Regions from separate parts of the Homo sapiens genome. Here region 1 is linked to region 2. The links are contacts of gene promoters, found by promoter capture Hi-C in human tissues and cell types (Jung and others, 2019). All regions are on one chromosome and are shown on one strand. The core of a region is centred on a gene start or on the middle of the fragment in contact, and the rest is flanking DNA. Distances in the headings are between cores, read along the strand shown.

Region 1 (5,849 bases), core at 839-3,338, 210 kb after region 2:
TCTTTTAGCATGCTAATGTGTTATAATTCACGTGTAATGAGCAGTGAGGACGACCAGAGGTCACCATCTCGGTTTTGGTGTGTTTGGCCAGTTTCTTTACTGCATCCTATCTTATCAGCAGGGTCTTTACGACCCATAACTTGTGATACCAGTCTTGCTGACCTCCTGTCTCATCCTGTGACTAAGAATGACTGACCTCCTGGGAATGGAGCCCAGCAGGTCTCATCTTATCTTACCTAGCCCCTATTCAAGATGGAGTCACTCTGGCCTCTGACATAATGATTTTACATGAGTTAACTCATTTAATTCTCACAGCAGCCCTATGAGGGAAATATTTGTATTATCTCCCATTTTACAGATGAGAAGATTGAACACAGGGAAATTAATCACATTAACAAGATCTTATAAGTAGCAGGCCTGAAAAGCATTGCTTTGTGGAAAAAAGCAAGATAATTAAGAGTGTGTTGTGGCTGGGCACAGCGGCTCATGCCTGTAATCCCAGTAATTTGGGGGGCTGAGGCAGGCAGATCACTTGAGGTCAGGAGTCCAAGACCAGCCTGGCCAATGTGGCGAAACCCCATCTCTACTAAAAATACAAAAATTAGCTGGGCATGTTGATGTGCACCTGTGATCCCAGTTACTTGGGGGGCTGAGGCAGGAGAATCGCTTAAATGCAGGGGGTGGAAGTTGCAATGAGCCAAGATCGTGCCATTGCACTCTAGCCTGGGTGACAGAGCGAGACTCCATTTCAAAAGAAAAGAGTGTGTTGTGTTGTATAGACTGCCCAAATGTAAATACACACATATACATACATACATATTTATACATATGTGTATTTTTACATATAGAGAGAACATGGGAACTAGGGTTCAAAGGGAAACTTGGTTTTCACTTCTGAACCTTTGGAATTTTTCATGCACATTTTACTTATTTAAAAATTAATTAGGCCAGGCGTGGTGGCTCACACCTGTAATCCCAGCACTTTGGGAGGCCGAGGCAGGCGGATCACTTGAGGTCAGCAGTTTGAGACCAGCCTGACCAACATAGTGAAACCCTGCCTCTACTAAAATACAAAAATTAGCTGGGCATGGTGGCACATGCCTGTAATCCCAGCTACTCGGGAGGCTGAGGCAGGAGAATCGCTTGAACCTGGGAGGCAGAGGTTGCAGTGAGCTGAGATCACAACACTGTACTCCAGGCTGAGTGACAGAGCTAGACTCCGTCTCAAAAAAAAAAATTAATTAATAATTGAAGAGTTCTCCAGCTCAAGCTGGGTCACTCCTCTCTGGAGTCCCCTGCCCCTCAAAGCAGGCTCAGACCTGTTTCTGCACACATAGGCCAGCTATCTGGGCCGGGGCGCCAGCCCCAGGTTACAGGCAGGCTGGTGACTTGGAAATGGAGTTCATGTCCAGAAACCTTGTGGAGAGTGGGGAGGAAGTCATATGTTCTTGGTGCCACCCCCATCCCCTCAACTCAGCTTTTTTATCTGCACCAGGCTTGGAAGTAGAATGTCTGCACCCCCAACACACACACACACACCAGCACAAAGAAGACCCCCTCCTCTCTCCACCTGATTTCCATTGCCTGCCCTTCTTTTCAGGCCAGACAAAGCCTTGCATTCCCAATTAGCCACCAAGGGTTTAAAATGCAAATTTCTGGAGGAGTTCACAACCTGTGTGAAAGTTTCCATGTAGGTGTTAATTATTTCCACCTCCTCCTTCCTGGGCTGGGCAGGGTGAGAGGAAGCAAGCCTGGTGGGACTGCTGGCCAGAGGTGAGTGCCCCGGGTGGAAGGGAGGGCGCCTCCCTAATCCTCTCCCATTCCAGTTCCCTACTCGCTCTGGACAGGACGTGCCATGGCCCCTGAAGCTCCCTTCCCTGTCACTATCTCCATCTCAAACATGTCTCCCGGCAAGAAAGCTGGACAGGGACACAGAGGAGACAGAAAAATAACCTCCTGGCATCTCTTGCTTCAAATCCTGATCCCTCCTGGAGGAGGTGCAGACCCTGAAAGGAAGATCCAGGGGTCCTGAGAGAGGGTCCACCTAGTAGACGAGTCTTGTTCCCTGTGGCCCCAGAACAGGAAAAGAGTAGAAGCCACTAGGAATGGGAAGGAATGTGCTTAGTAAGTACCCAGCACACAATAAATCCGTAAGTGATACCTAATATCTGTATTTTTGGCTGAAAAATTGCAAGAGCAACACGTTTGTTGCAAATGTTCAAACATTATGGAAGAGTATGAAAAGTAAAACTCCACCCTGCCCCCAGAGTTTAGGTTCTTCCAGAACTTACTTTTTTTTTTTTTTTTTTAAATTGAGACAGGAGTCTTGCTCTATCACCCAGGCTAGAGGCAGTGGCACGATCTCGGCTCACTGCAACCTCCGCCTCCCGGGTTCAAGTGATTCTCCAGCCTCAGCCTCCCAAGTAGCTGGGACTACAGGCATGCATCACCACGCCCAGCTAATTTATGTATTTTTTTTTTAGTAGAGATGGGGGTTCACCATGTTGGCCAGCCTGGCCTCGAACTCCTGACATCAGGTAATCCACGCGCCTTGGCCTCCCAAAGTGCTGGGATTACAGGTGTGAGCCACCGCGCCTGGCCCAGAACTTTTTATATATACAAATACACACACATAGGGTTGTTTACAATAATGCAACTGCAGTACATGCTTTGCCCCATAGCTCCTTTGCTCTTTTCCCCCACTCAGTAATATATATTGTGGATATCTTTTTATATCAGTACATTTGATACCCATGGTTAATATCAGTAGTTTAAGTAGATACCTTATAAAAAGCTGTTTTAGGTGACTCGGCCTGTAATCCCAGCAGTTTGGGAGGCCAAGGCAGGTGGATCACCTGAGGTCAGGTGTTTGAGGCCAGGCCGGCCAACATGGTGAAACCTTGTCTCTACTAAAAATATAAAAAATTAGCCAGGTGTGGTGGCATACGCCTGTAATCCCAGCTACTTGGGAGGCTGAGGCAGGAGAATCGCTTGAACCTGGGAGGCGGAGGTTGAAGTGAGCTGAGATCGTGCCATTGCACTCCAGCCTGGGCAACAGAGTAAGACTGTCTCAAAAAAAAAAAAAAAAAAGTTGTTATAATTCTTTTTTTCTGATTCTAAAAGTAGTGCATATTTAAGGTAGAAAAACTTGGAAAACATACATAAGTATAAAGAAAAAAAACACAAAGCACCCACAATTCCAGCCCTTTGAAGTACCTGTTGTTTCCCATTTGGTCTGTTTCCTGGAAGAATAACTTGGTATAAAAAGGCCCTGAGAGGCAGGAAGTTCCCACAGTCATGGTAATGATAGCCATTATTAAGTGAGCACTAATCTGGAGCTTGGTGCTGGTGCATCCATGACCTTCAGTCTTAACTGCAACCTTGCAATGAAGCATGGACTGGGAGGCAGGTGCAGAGCCTCTGGGATTCATCCATCCCTGACACTACAGCACTGATGGTTCCCACTTCCTGAGGACCCTGCTTGCAAGACAGGTCACTGCCCTGACTATTCTCCCAACCCTTTTGCTGATGTTCTGCTCCTCCCCAGAACATTTCAAAAATTCTTCAACAGCTTGATATTTGAAGTCCTATTGACTGTCCCATCTCCCTCCTTCACCTCCCCAGCCCACTGGACTGTAAGCTCCATGAGATCAGGGGCCGTATCCAGTGTGCCTGTGCTGTGCCAACCCCTTAACAGCCTTCAGTAAATGCTTGTCGAATAAATGTATCCACCAAGCCACAAGCTGGTCTGCATACGCTCCCACCTCACAGCGCCTTTTTTCATCGTCACATTGTGTCTGTGGACACTGTGTTTAGGGAGTGCTTCAAAGCTCATCTCCAAGCCTTTCCTGGCAGGCTCACCTCCCTCTACTGAAACCAGCCCTCATCTCTTTACATTTTGATTGTCTCAACCATTCACCAGATGATCTGCTGTTCACAGTCTCATCCACAACATTTACTTTATTTATTTATTTGTTTGTTTTTATAAAACTGACCCAAGGGAGACTGCTTTGGTTGGTTGTATTGCTTTAGTATCAAATTAGAAGTTAGGAGGTTCCCTGTGATCTGGGGCTGCCACATTTTCTCTAGATCTTAGTTCCCTCTTCTGTAAGTGAAGGGATTGCACTACAGTCACTCTGTGTTTTTTTTTTTTTTTTCCCAAGTGCCAAGTTTTATGATTCTGGGACTTTGATGTGTGAAAGGAAAATAAATCTTGGGACCCCCAAATCACTAAGCAAAAGGGGAAAGTCAAGCTGGGAACTGGTTAAGGCAAACTTGCCTCCCATTCTATTCAAAGTCATCCCTGGGAGGCTCACCTGAGATAATGCATATATAATTGCTTCCTCTCCCCTATTGCTTATGTAAAAATGCAGATTCACTGAGGCAGACTCAATTGTATATTCAGTGGAAGGCTGATCAAAGACGTAAAAGAATGTAACCTTTTGTCTCTAATCTACTTCTAACCTTGAAGCCCCCACTTCAAGTTGTCCCACCTTACTGGAGGACAGAACTAGTGTACATTTTACACGTTGAGGCTGTGTCATGGGCGTGTCCTTAACCTTGCCAAAATAAACTTTTAAATTGACTGAGACCTGTCTCAGATATTTGAGGTTCACAGATGTCTACTTCTATTCATTCCTGTAAACTTTCACTTTGATAAGAAGCCTCACTTCCTGAAAAAAATTTCATAAACCTGAATTCCGGGCTTCAATTTTTAAACTATGAAATTAGAAAATACAAGTAGTCTTCATTTAATTAGAGCTGATTTTCAAGAATAATTCCTGAGTTTGCCAATTATTCTTTCTTGTTCCGGGTTGCAGTTGGAATTTATAGACAGGGTGCTACTTCTAAATGACAGTAAGAGCTGGTGGTGCCTCCCTCTTCCATCACTTTTCTCCAAAAAGTTCTGGTGTCTGGTGCAAGAGGAAATGGCCCTAGTGCTGATGCTAAGGCTACTATGGTTATCAAAATAGTTGACATCTTTGAGATTCCTAAAGCTCTTAGAGGTCCAATTTCTACAGCTTTTTTTATTTCTTTTCCTCCCACTCATCACCCACAATTCCAATTATACGAAGCCTAATGTTCCTTTCCATTGAAGGCCTTGCCTCTCATCTTCTCCCAACTAGGGCAGTCCCTTAAACTTTTCTATGAAACTCCAGTGTGTTTAATTTCGGTTCCTATGTGTTCTATTTCTGGAAGTTCTATTTGGTTCTTTTCCATATCTGCTAGATTTTTTAGAGCCTATTTTTCCTTCAAATATGTTCAAGTTTGTAATTTACATAATAAAAAGCTTATTTACAATATGTCCCTGATAATTCCACTTCCAGAAGTAGGTGTGGGTTTGTTTCTGTTATCTGTTGTTTCTCTTGATTTTTACTCCTGTTACATTCCTTGTGTTGGCCACAATCTTAAGGCATAAAAATGCTTTCAAATGACACACAGAAACAAAATTCTCCAGTCATTTCTAAGACCCAGTAGTTTGCAGTCATCTTGAAACAAGAAAGAGAGATATGTTTTGGAAATACGTATGTAAGGATCATCGTCAAGACCTATTGGAGTTCAATCTACTAAACTTTTGATCTCATCTCTTTGTAGAGCTGGCTTCTGCTCCTCATGCTTAACTGAGGCAGAAGAATAGGGTCTGGAGGCAGGGAACATAAGGCTGATTCATGCTGACTTCCTAGAACTAAATCAAATAGAAACATATATCCTCTCCATTTACATAGGGCATACACTGAGTAAATGACTTTGTAACTTTATTTCATCCTCTTCACTTACATAGGGCTTACACCAAGTAACCAGTGGAAACCTCTAGAGGGTATTTAATCCCCAGAAAATTCTGTAACAGG
Region 2 (5,693 bases), core at 247-2,746:
TTCAATGTACTTGAAATGTTTATTTACAGGTGGGTCTGCTTGATGTGTGTTCTAAAGCAAAAAGAAGCCCAATGTTTCTTCATCCCAAGTTTTAGCCTTTTCTTCTGAAATATAACGAGATCCTGATTTAAAGTCAGCCTGCACTAACAGAAACGCTGTGAGACCACAAATAAGCATGAACTTCTTACATGTGCAAATTACTGTGTGCTTTGTGCCAGCTCCTATGCTATGACCTTTATCTTATAACAGCCTTTATCCCCAGTTCATAGATGAGGAAACTGAGGAAGAGAGGGGTTAAGAAACTTGCTCGCCAGCACGGTGGCTCAAGCCAGTAAAGCTCAAGCCAGTAAAGCTCAAGCCACGGAGGCCGAGGCGGGCGGATCACAAGGTCAAGAGATCGAGACCATCCTTGCCAGCATGGTGAAACCCCGTCTCTACTAAAAATACAAAAAAAAAAAAAATTAGCTGCGTGTGGTGGCGCACGCCTGTAGTCCCAGCTACTCGGGAGACTGAGGCAGGAGAATCGCTTGAACCCGGGAGGCAGAGGTTGCAGTGAGCCAAGATCGCTACACTGCACTCCAGCCTGGTGACAGAGCGAGACTCCGTCAAAAAAAAAAAAGAAAAGAAAAGAAAAGAAAAGAAACTTGCTAAGATGACGTAGCTCAGGGTGGTGAGGCAGAGTCTCACACTCAGATCTGGCTGACTAACCCCAGGCCGCCTCTTGTGATCTCAGCCAAGCTGCACTGTCTTCATGCACCCTCTGGGACAGAAAGACACCATGGGCAGCTGTAGGTCCAGAAACAGTGGGGAGTCACTTCTCCATTTTCACTGAAGGCAATTGGCAGCATTTGAAGAGCCGGGAAAACTTAGGCGCCCAGCTCTCACCTCTGAAGGGGTTTTGAAGAAATTCTATGTTCAGTCCTTTATATATATATATATATATATATATATATATATATATATATATATATATATATATATATAATTATTTATACATATATGTAATTATTTATATATCCCATGCCTGGATCGCGTTTACTTGAAATAAACGCTGTCATTCGTTTGCCGTCCAGTAAGAGGCACCCTTTAGCTGCTTTAAAAAAGCTGAACATAGGGTTACTGAGTGGGTGTGTTCAATGGCGTGAGAAGTAACAGCGAAAAGTCAAAAGCAAATAATGACTAAAGTTTTAAAACTCCTTGAAACTCAGAAAAGAATGAAAGCAGTGACGGAAAAATCAATTAATTCAGTTTCACGAACCATTGCTAAAAGGCAGCAACATTTTAGTGGTTTCCTGACCTACCCGTATTTCTTAGCTCCAAATTCATGTTGGTTTCATTTGTCGCACGGAATTATTTTTAGTTTAGGGTTTGTCCTTTTCACTTCCACATTTCCCGAATTCATAAGTCTGTGCCTGCGGCACTGCGTAGACGCGGGGAGTTCGGTATCAGTTTACACGTTGCCTTCAGTAAAATCCGCCAGAGGTCCACCCATTTTGCCTTTTCCCCTTCCTTGCCCTGGGAGAAATCCTCCCTTCACTGGGAGAGAACTTCTCTCCCAGGGCGGTGCGACCCGGAGCTCCAGCGCCCTAGTCTCCACTTCGTTTGCTGAAACTTGCTTTCTACCAGCTAAGAACCATGCTGCGAGTGATTGTGGAATCTGCCAGCAATATCCCTAAAACGAAATTTGGCAAGCCGGATCCTATTGTTTCTGTCATTTTTAAGGGTAAGAAAAAGTTTTCTTCTTTTTCTGAAGTCCTGTTTTGGAATGTTAGTTTCTTGAGTCACCTTCTTGAAAAGTCTGCATTTAGACAGCTGATGAAGCCAAGTCTCTCCAGCAGCGTTTGTTACCTGCGCAGGACAGGGGAGAGGACCCGTTTCTGGGGAAGGCATTTAATTTTCTCCAGGGCTTGAGACTCATGGAATGACCTGATGTTTTAGCTCTAAGAGTGTGATTTCTGTAAGCTCTTGGCAGAAAACGTATTTGCGAATCACTAAATTTCAGGTATCAACAAACATCTGTATTGGTTCAAAGTAAGTTTCAGTAGTCTTAGATGCATTTTTTCTCTGCCTGTGAGAAATGGGTAAAGGAGGAAGAAGAGCAATTAAATTGTTGGAGACACCATTACTCCTTGAACCAGCCTGACGCTGCTTTGATTGTCACTGGGTTTCTGGGAGGTGGGATGGGTGAAGTTCATAGTTTTATTGAGTTTTCCTGCCCTTTTGTGCCTTTGTAATTGTTTTTATATCTAAACTGTTGGGGAGCTTTTTTTGTACATTCTGTAGCTTTTAAATTGCTCATTGAGGAAAGAACTCTGGACAGCTAGTTTGCAATTTGGGGATCTAGTTCTATCTTGCCTGCTGAATGACCTTGGGCAAGTTACTTCATTTCTCTGGGATCTCAATTTTCTTTTCTGCAAAACAGGCGAGAAGGGTTTAGACAAGATCATCTCTAAAAACCTCATGGTTGGCTGAGCACAGTGGCTCCTCAACCCTGAGCCAACTTTGGGAGGCCAAGGCAGGAGGATTGCTTGAGCCCAGGAGTTTGAGGCTACAGTGAGCCGTGATCACGCCACTGCACTCCAGCCTGGGTGTAAAAATAAATAAAAATAAAAGGCTCATGGTAATTTTAAAAGGCTATTTTTCTATGACACTTGATTGCCATTGCAGGGGAGGGGACAGGAATGCTTGGTGTCATGGTACAATTTGATGTAAGTGACTTAGTTTTGGCTAAAGTGGGGTTTCTAAATCTCAGTGTGGAGGCTTTATCTATTTTGTTTGTCATTGGTAAGACTGCCAACTCACTTCTTGGCAAGAGGGATGGGAAAGAGAGGGAAAGGCAGAGAGAGTGGGAGCATGGATAGACATGTGTTTCCTGACCATGCCTTGCTACATTTCTCGTTTCTTCCAGGAGCCTGACTGCTACTCCCTGTCAGTTCCTGAGGCATCTATACCTTTCGCCTTTCTGTTTCCCGTTTTTCCCCTTTATTTCTCTTCTTAAACCTCTCTCTCTGAGGATGAGCAAGAAAATGAAAGAAATGAAACTCAAAGCTGGCTGGCTGGGTGTGGTGACTTCTGCCTGTAATCCCAGAACTTTGGGAGGCTGAGGTGGGTGGATCACATGAGGGCAGGAGTTCGAGACCAGCCAGGCCAACATGGCAAAACCCCATCTCTACTAAAAATACAAAAATTAGCCGGGCATGGTGGCACATGCCTATAATCCCAGCTACTCGGGAGGCTGAGGCAGGAGGATTGCTTCAACCCAGGAGGAGGAGGTTGCAGTGAGCCGAGATCATGCTACTGCACTCCAACCTGGGCAACAGAGTGAGACTCCGTCTCAAAAAAAAAAAAAAAAAAAAAAAAAAGCTGGCAAATTGTTGGTTGGTTAAAAAAAAAATCTAAAGGGCAAAAATTGGATTTAAAAAAAATTTAAAAAAATTTTTTTGAATAAGACTGGGTCTTGCTATGTTGCCCAGGCTGGTTATAATTCCCTTGCTCAAACTTTCTTCCCATCTCAGCTTCCCAAAGTGTTGGGATTACAGGCGTAAACTACCACGCCCAGCTTAAAATTGGGCTCTTAAAGGACAATGAGGTTTGAAAATCTGGCTAGTGAATATCATGGACTCACGTTATGTCAGAGTTTATTTACATGTGTTAGGTTTTATTAATTTTTTGTTTTCTTGAAGCAGTTACATAATAGAGACATAATATGAAGATTTTACATCCTTCATCATTGACATATAAAGACATTAAAATATATTTGGATCAGTCCGATCATGTAATTATTTAAGTATTATAGATTATAGAGGAATTGGAGTTAATACTATATTGAAATCTGACTTGTTATTTGTCTGGAGTTTGTATGCATTGATGAAACATTTTAAATGATGAAAAATATATCTAAGTCAATGAATGCAAACAATCAATTGAAAGTGGAAAACTTCAGTTAAGTTGGCAAATATAGTCTATACAAACAATTACACATTTAACTTTAGTCTCTTTTCTGGCCTCCTTTTTTCATACAAATCGAGTGGTAAAGTCATTCATTCATTTAGCTAACAAGCAACCTGACAGAGGAAAGGGCACTCAACTCAGAGTAGGAACATCTGCATTCCAGCTGACATTAACTCAATATCTGATTTAACCACCTGGGTCTCCAATTTCTCAGCTGTGGCATGATGGGAACTGGTCTTTAGATGCCTTCCGTCTTTTAGATTCTAATTTTCTAGTTCCAGGTATTGAGTTAGCTGCTCTCAGCAAGATGTGAAATGCATTGCCTTAGGTGCTGGAGGGGATATAGCAACAAACACAGCACTCTTCTTGCTTTCAGTCTATGTCGGTGGTTTAAAATCCTGGTGATGGCAAACCCTTTACAGGTGTGTTCCCAATTTTGAGCACTGCGTAAAATTAAGTAACATTAAGTTCTGACTGAACTGAGGATACTTATAGCAAAATACTGTCCATCAGAGGGAACATGGAACAAAGGCAGACACACTTCATAGTGTGGAGTGGGGCAGGGTATGGTAAACTGGAAAAAGCCCTACCATGCCTGTAGTCCCAGCTACTCAGGAGGCTGAGGCAGGAGAATCACTTGAGCCTGGGAGGCGGAGGTTCCAGTGAGCAGAGATCGCACCACTGCACTCCAGCCTGGGAGATAGAACGAGACTCCATCTCAAAAAAAAAAAAAGGAAAAAGCCATACCAGAAGATCAAGGCGGCATCAAAGAAAGTCCCTGTGTTAACAGAAATATGTAAACATTTTGCCTCTTGGGTAAATAAACAAAGTCAGGGCAGTAAGCAGCTCTTCTCAAACTATAAGACGGTGAAGAATGGCCAGGGGAAGTGATTGTTAATGGTGAAGCTCGCATAGACACTGTGAGGCCCTATTAGGCTATAGCTACACTGTACTTGGGATTGTGCTGTACTGACAACCAACTGGTTTACAGTTGACCTCAGTTTTTCGTGTTCAAACCCTTTCTTTCTTTCTTTCTTTTTTTTTTTTTTTTTTGAGACTGTTTCACCCTGCCATCCAGGAGGGAAGAGTGCAGTCAGTGGTGTGATCATGGTCTCGAACTCCTGGGCTCAAGCGATCCTCCCACCTCAGCCTCCTGAGTAGCTGAACTATAGGCACACACCACCATGCCCAGCTAATTTTTAATTTTTTTTGTAGAGACAGGGCCTCACTCTGTTTCTCAAGCTGGCCTTGAACTCTTGGGCTCAAGCAATCCTCCTGGCTTGGCCTCCCAAAGTATTGGGATTACAGGTATGAGCGCCCAGTTGTGTTCAACCGTGAGTGACCCTTCTGAGGCTGTCAAATTACTCAGGGCCTGGTAGGAACTAGGAGGATCTGGGGGTTGCTGTAGTCCTGGTGCATGGTTGTTGGTGATGTTCAGCAGCGCAGGTGTAGATTATGAAAGCCACAACGCTTATGTAATTTTTCATATCCTTCGGGTACACCAGGTTCCATGAGCCAGATCCGAATTGAGGCTGGAGTGAGTGCCTGTGAGCCAGGGGTGGCCATTCTGCCCTAAGTTCCATGCGGACAGCCAGGCTGTGAAGCTGAATCTAGCTGAGATTAGACTACACAGACCTCTGAGACCAATTTCAACTCTGAGACTTGATGATTCTTCCAAACAGTCCTCCAAACAGAACAGGTTGTTAAAAAACTTTTTAATTTTAAATAATATAATATTTTTA

The links. The method cuts DNA at HindIII sites, captures the fragments that hold promoters and counts their contacts. A contact is called where the count stands out against the background at its distance.
Region 1: a fragment that was not itself captured here is called in contact with the fragment with the promoter of MYOF in region 2 in 1 of the 25 tissues and cell types used here (mesendoderm cells).

Annotation. Positions count from the first base shown.
Region 1 is chr10:93,268,989-93,274,837 of GRCh38, reverse strand. No RefSeq gene overlaps it. Among named protein-coding and RNA genes, the nearest start is that of CYP26A1, 200 kb to the right of the region's middle. RefSeq lists enhancers at 641-1,207, 1,208-1,774, 1,775-2,342. The HindIII fragment of the contact is 7,919 bases long and covers 1-5,849 here.
Region 2 is chr10:93,478,137-93,483,829 of GRCh38, reverse strand. MYOF (myoferlin) reads left to right here and starts at 1,496. Exons shown (of 54, transcript NM_013451.4): 1 at 1,496-1,723. The coding sequence starts at 1,636. The HindIII fragment of the contact is 15,058 bases long and covers 1-5,693 here.